2 separate regions of the Homo sapiens genome follow, and region 2 is linked to region 1. The links are contacts of gene promoters, found by promoter capture Hi-C in human tissues and cell types (Jung and others, 2019). All regions are on one chromosome and are shown on one strand. Each heading gives the region's core, a stretch centred on a gene start or on the middle of the fragment in contact. The rest is flanking DNA. Distances are from core to core; before and after follow the strand shown. Region 1 holds the start of CDH5 (cadherin 5). Region 2 has its middle 88 kb from the start of CDH5.

Region 1 (3,330 bases), core at 59-2,558:
CAGGCTGGACTCACCCCTGTCTCCCCCACCAGCCTGACACCTCCACCTGGGTATCTAACGAGCATCTCAAACTCAACCTGCCTGAGACAGAGGAATCACTATCCCCTCCTCCTCCAAAAATATCCTTCCATCACACTCCCCATCTTGTGCTCTGATTTACTAAACGGCCCTGGGCCCTCTCTTTCTCAGGGTCTCTGCTTGCCCAGCTATATAATAAAACAAGTTTGGGACTTCCCAACCATTCACCCATGGAAAAACAGAAGCAACTCTTCAAAGGACAGATTCCCAGGATCTGCCCTGGGAGATTCCAAATCAGTTGATCTGGGGTGAGCCCAGTCCTCTGTAGTTTTTAGAAGCTCCTCCTATGTCTCTCCTGGTCAGCAGAATCTTGGCCCCTCCCTTCCCCCCAGCCTCTTGGTTCTTCTGGGCTCTGATCCAGCCTCAGCGTCACTGTCTTCCACGCCCCTCTTTGATTCTCGTTTATGTCAAAAGCCTTGTGAGGATGAGGCTGTGATTATCCCCATTTTACAGATGAGGAAACTGTGGCTCCAGGATGACACAACTGGCCAGAGGTCACATCAGAAGCAGAGCTGGGTCACTTGACTCCACCCAATATCCCTAAATGCAAACATCCCCTACAGACCGAGGCTGGCACCTTAGAGCTGGAGTCCATGCCCGCTCTGACCAGGAGAAGCCAACCTGGTCCTCCAGAGCCAAGAGCTTCTGTCCCTTTCCCATCTCCTGAAGCCTCCCTGTCACCTTTAAAGTCCATTCCCACAAAGACATCATGGGATCACCACAGAAAATCAAGCTCTGGGGCTAGGCTGACCCCAGCTAGATTTTTGGCTCTTTTATACCCCAGCTGGGTGGACAAGCACCTTAAACCCGCTGAGCCTCAGCTTCCCGGGCTATAAAATGGGGGTGATGACACCTGCCTGTAGCATTCCAAGGAGGGTTAAATGTGATGCTGCAGCCAAGGGTCCCCACAGCCAGGCTCTTTGCAGGTGCTGGGTTCAGAGTCCCAGAGCTGAGGCCGGGAGTAGGGGTTCAAGTGGGGTGCCCCAGGCAGGGTCCAGTGCCAGCCCTCTGTGGAGACAGCCATCCGGGGCCGAGGCAGCCGCCCACCGCAGGGCCTGCCTATCTGCAGCCAGCCCAGCCCTCACAAAGGAACAATAACAGGAAACCATCCCAGGGGGAAGTGGGCCAGGGCCAGCTGGAAAACCTGAAGGGGAGGCAGCCAGGCCTCCCTCGCCAGCGGGGTGTGGCTCCCCTCCAAAGACGGTCGGCTGACAGGCTCCACAGAGCTCCACTCACGCTCAGCCCTGGACGGACAGGCAGTCCAACGGAACAGAAACATCCCTCAGCCCACAGGCACGGTGAGTGGGGGCTCCCACACTCCCCTCCACCCCAAACCCGCCACCCTGCGCCCAAGATGGGAGGGTCCTCAGCTTCCCCATCTGTAGAATGGGCATCGTCCCACTCCCATGACAGAGAGGCTCCTCGAGGGCACGCTGGGCCTCCTCGTGGCTCAGAGCAGGGTCGGGGAAGGTGCACCCAGAGGTAGTGCCAAGGGCACAAATGGGCATCTCGGGGCTGAGGGGGGCAGGGCAAGGGCTTGGCTCTCCCAGAAGTGTATTCTCCAACTCAAAAAGGCCCACTGGCCTTCATCAGTGCCAGGCTCAGAGAGGGCAGTATTCTGCCCCAGTTGCCCAGCATGCCGGGGCAGAGGACTGGCACCCAGGCCTTGGCCTCCCCTCGGTGCCTTACCCTTACTGGAGAGGATTTACCAAGGCCTGACACCAGCCTCCTCAGCCCCCTACCCATACGCCACTAAAGCTCTATGCTGGGATCTGGGGAGGGGCCCTGAAAAGGAAGCTCCGAGCCTTGGCCCCTCTCGGTCAGCCAGTGCCCCCATTTCAGGATAGGCAAGCTGAGGCTTGGCTCTGGGCACTTGAGGTCTTGCCTTTCCCTCTGGGCCTTTCCCTGCCCAAACACCATCGGGGCCCACTATGTGTCAAGGGAGCTGTAGTCTGGACAGCGGTCCACCATTCCTCCCACCAGCACCCTTTCAAAGGCTAGAGCATAAGAGCCCCAAGGCCCCCACAGCCCAGGAAGTCCCCCAGAAGCAGGAGGTCTGGGCCAAGAGCCTGGCCTGGAGACAGCTGCCCTGGGTACAGATCCCAGCTCTCCCATTTGCTCTGGGGTGACCTTGGGAAAGTTACCCAGAGTTTCCAAACCACAGTGGGGAACAAGGGATGGTGTGGGGCTCATTATTTTACCATTAACAACTCCACAAGGTAGATACATTCTTTCTTTATATCTCAGTGAAAGCAACTGAGCTTTGGAAACATATGAGCTGGTGTGGGGATTTGAACCAGGATCTCGTACTCCAAAGCCCCAGCTCTCCCCAGGTCTCAAGTGTCTCATCTGTGAAATGGGGAAACAGTGTTTCCTCAGTCAATTGAGTGAAGTGAGCTACATCCCTGGTGCTGGGAATGGCACATAACATGAGATCTTTAAGGAATAGTGGCTGGATTTACCAGCTAGCACAGAGCCGATCCTGGTTGTGAATGTGATAAAGATTTTGGCCCTTGAGGTATGGTCAAACCCCATCACGGAGGGGTCCTCAGGTGCCCAGCAGGTACGAGGAAGGGGGTGCAAGTGAGAGGACATCGCGAGCACCTCTGGGCCTCTGCTCCATGTCAGGCTCCCTCCCCAGCGTGGACGTTTCTCATGTGTGATGGGCAGATAGGATTCTGACAAGAGAGGAAGGGCATTCCCAGGGAGGCAGCTTTGAGGAGTCGAGGGTGTACCTGGAAGGCTCTTTTGCCACAGGCCACTGGAGCCAGGGCCAGAAGCCCTGGTCCATCCTCAGGTGGTGGGAAGCCTGGGACTCTCCTCTGCCTGCCCTAGAGAGCAGCAGGTATCCACCAAGGGGCCCAAGAGCTGCTGAGCCCCTGAGCAGCCCTACCAATTTCAGCTTATGGTGGTGAGGGGTAGGGGAGGTGTATACTGGCCTGGAAGGGGTTAAGCTGCCCGCCTGCAGCCTCAGCCTGAGCTATTGTGTTGCCAAACAAGGGCCGGACATGAGGGCAGGAAGCCAGCAGGGGCCACACATTTTCTGCAAAGTTGGATGATTCACTGCTGACTTGGGGACACCCAGGGGACAGAGGGGACACCATCCCAGGAAGAATCTTAGGCTCATTTTGCCCACATGGACCCATGACTGTTCCCTGTATCCTCTCTCTGCACCCCCTCAGTCACACTGAAGCAACTATGAGAATTCCCATTTGACAGATGGGACCATCGAGGCTGAGGGAAGCTGTGCAG
Region 2 (3,225 bases), core at 2-2,501, 88 kb before region 1:
AGAGCAGGGTGCCATTTTCAATATGAGTGTATACAAAGTCAGTTACTCTTTGGCAACCTGGCAGTGTGGCTGCACAGGCATTTTAGTCTCAGGCCAGAGATTGGAGCACTTGCTCTGGACCAGGGTACAGGCCTCCATGGCCAGAACTGTGGAAAGCACCTCAACAGTAAGCATTGGAATTGTGCTTTTCTCCATTGCAGACCTGGGGAGGGAGGAGAGCTACTACAGCATGGTTTCTTCTGGGTGATGAGAACTGCAGCCAGGGCCAGCTTGGCAACCTGGAACCAGTCTGGTCTGCATGTGTCACTTCTGGGTGCCGCAGCCTGCTCCCTGGGATCATGGTGCAGTGGGGCCCTCTCTGCTCTACCTCCCGGTAGAGCGCCAGGCATTAAGAGCACCCACTTGCCTGGACCAGCAGCCTGAGCTGCCCCACCCTTCTTGGGAATGGACTGTGTGCAGTAGGACCCTCTCTTCTCCACACCCAGGCTGTTCTCTAGGCATTCAGAGCATCTGCTCCCACAGATTAGCCGCCCGAGTTACCCCATCCTTCCTGTGCAGAGATCCTGGTACCAGGAGGCCCTCTCTGCTTCACGACTGGGCAGATCTCCAGGCATTCAGAGCACTCGTTCACCTGGCTCAGCAGCCTGAGTTGCCCCACCCTTCCTATGCAGAGATTGTGGTGCAGCTTGACCCTCTATACTCCAAACCCAGTCAGATCTGCAGGCATTTGGAGCACCTGTTTATCTGGATTGGCAACCTGAGCTGCCCCACCCTTCTTGCACAAGGCCCTCTCCACTCCACACCCAGGCAGAAGAACCCCAGGCATTCAGAGCACTCAGTCACATGGACCAGCAGCCTGAACTGCCCCCACCCTTCCTGTGCAGAGATTGTGGCAGAGCAGGGCCTTCTCCCCTCCATGCCAAGGCAGATTTCCAGGCATCTGGGCACCCACTGTCCTGGATTAGAAGTGTAGGCTGCTCCCCTTCCCATACAGAGAATTGGGGCTGAGGAAGTTTCCCAGATGCATGCCTAGTCATACCTTAGGGTGCTTGGTGGGCACTCACTGGATTTTCCCTCAGCACTTGTGCTTATGCTTGCCACTTGGGGACCTGTAGATGGACCTGCCCAGTCTGACGCTCATCATCTTGGCCCCAACCTCTAGGCCTGAGCAGGGAGCTCAGGCCATTGTGCACTCCATGAATCAGCCCATTACCTGAGGCAACAGAGAGCTTCTCACAGTAAACAAGGATCAGGTATACACCTGGCTGCACTGGCCACAGCCAGCTCTTACCCATAAGCTCCATCTACTGGTTTGTAAGTCAAACCACACAGCCCAATATAAAACCTGCTAGCAGAAGTGCTTATAGTTATAGAAGCAAAGCCAAAAGACCCTACTCAACATTCTCTACAGTCACACCCCCTAGGGAGGTGGAAAAGGGAAAAGAAAAAAAAAATTGTAAGGAAAGAAAGAAAAAAGTTTTATCCACATGAAAATAACTACAAAAATTAGAAGTGCCAATGCCTCCAGATGAGAAGGAGCCAGTACTAGAATTCTGGCACCATAAAAATTCTGAATGTAGTGATATCACCATCACACTAGCTCTCCAGCAATGGTTCCTAACCAAAATGGAAACTCAGAAATGACAGATAAAGAATTTAAAGCATGGATTGCAAGGAAGCTCAATGAGATCCAAGACAGGGTTGAAAATCAACACAAATAAGCTTCTAGAACAATCCAGGAAATGAAGGAAGATTTAAATGCTTTAAAAAGAAATCAGAGGTTCTAGAATTGAAAAACTCATGTAAAGAATTTGAAAATACAGTTGAAAACTTTATCAATAGAATAGACCAAGCAGAAGAAAGAATTTCAGAGCTTGAAGACCAGTCTTTTGAATTAACTCAGCCAGACAAAAATAAGGAAAAAAGAATTTTAAAAGTCGTTGATAAATATAAGATCATGTAAAGCCATCAAATCTATAAATTACTGGCATTCCTGAGAGAGAAGGAGAAAAGTAAACAACCTGGAAAAATTATTTGAGGGAATAACTAAAGAAAATTTCCCTAGTCTTGCTAGAGAGGTGGATATCCAGTTACAAGAAATCCAAAGAACACATGTGAGATATTATACAAAACAAATATCACCAAGGCATATATCACTAGGCTGTCAAGGTCAAGGCTAAACAAAAAGTCTTAAAGGCAGCTAAAGAAAAAGGTCAGATCACATACAAAGGGATCCCCATCAGGCTAACATCAGACTTTTCAGCAGAAACCTTACAAGCCAGGAAAGATTGGGGGCCTGTTTTCAGTATTCTTAAACAAAAGAAATTTCAACCAAGAATTTCATATCCTGCCAAACTTAGCATCACAAGTGAAGGACAAATAAAATCCTTTGCAGACAAGCAAGTGCTAATGTAATTCATTACCATTAGACCAGCCTTACAAGAGATCCTTAAGAGAGTTCTAAACATGGAAACGAAATGTTTTTGTGCTACCCCAAAAATACACTTAAGTATACACCCCACAGACCCTACAAAGCAACCACACAATAGAAACTACAAAGCAACCAGCTAACAACTTCACAATAGGATCAAAACTTCACATATCAATATTAACTTTGAATGTAAATGGTCTAAATCCCCCCACTTAAAAGGCACGGAGTGAAAAGCTGGATAAAAAAAAAAAAAAAGACCCATCTGTCTACTGTCTTCAAGAGACCCACCTCACATGGAATGACACCTATAGGTTCAAAGTAAAGGATCAGAGAAAGATCTATCATACAAATGGAAAATTTAAAAAAAAGCAGGGGTTGCTATTTTTATATCAGATAAAATAGACTTTAAGCCAATAATAGTAAAAAAACAAAAAAAAGGGACAAACAAGGAGCATTACATGTTGATAAAGGGCTCAGTTCAACAAGAAGACTTAACTATCCTAAATATACATACACCCAACATTGCAGCACTCAGATTCATAAAAAAAGTACTGCTAGACCTACAAAAAGACTTAAATGGCCACACAATAATAGTGAGAAATTTCAACAGCCTATTGACCATGTTAGACAGACCACTGAGACAGAAAACTAACAAAGAAATTCTGGACTTAAATTTGACACTTGACCAATTGTACTTAATAGACATCTAAAGGCTACTCCACCCGTCAACCACATAATGCACATTCTTCTCATCTGCACACGGAAAATACTGTAAAATCAACCACTGTAAGAAA

Evidence for each region. Contacts are between HindIII fragments. The study calls those that stand out against the background at their distance.
Region 2: a fragment that was not itself captured here is called in contact with the fragment with the promoter of CDH5 in region 1 in 2 of the 25 tissues and cell types used here (liver and thymus).

What each region holds. Positions count from the first base shown.
Region 1 is chr16:66,365,383-66,368,712 of GRCh38, forward strand. It overlaps CDH5 (cadherin 5), which reads left to right and starts at 1,309. Exons shown (of 12, transcript NM_001795.5): 1 at 1,309-1,376. The region is part of intron 2 of LOC105371318 (a long non-coding RNA gene); the gene reads right to left. RefSeq lists enhancers at 1,202-1,751, 2,562-3,268. The HindIII fragment of the contact is 33,771 bases long and covers 1-3,330 here.
Region 2 is chr16:66,277,560-66,280,784 of GRCh38, forward strand. No RefSeq gene overlaps it. Among named protein-coding and RNA genes, the nearest start is that of CDH5, 88 kb to the right of the region's middle. The HindIII fragment of the contact is 3,049 bases long and covers 1-2,776 here.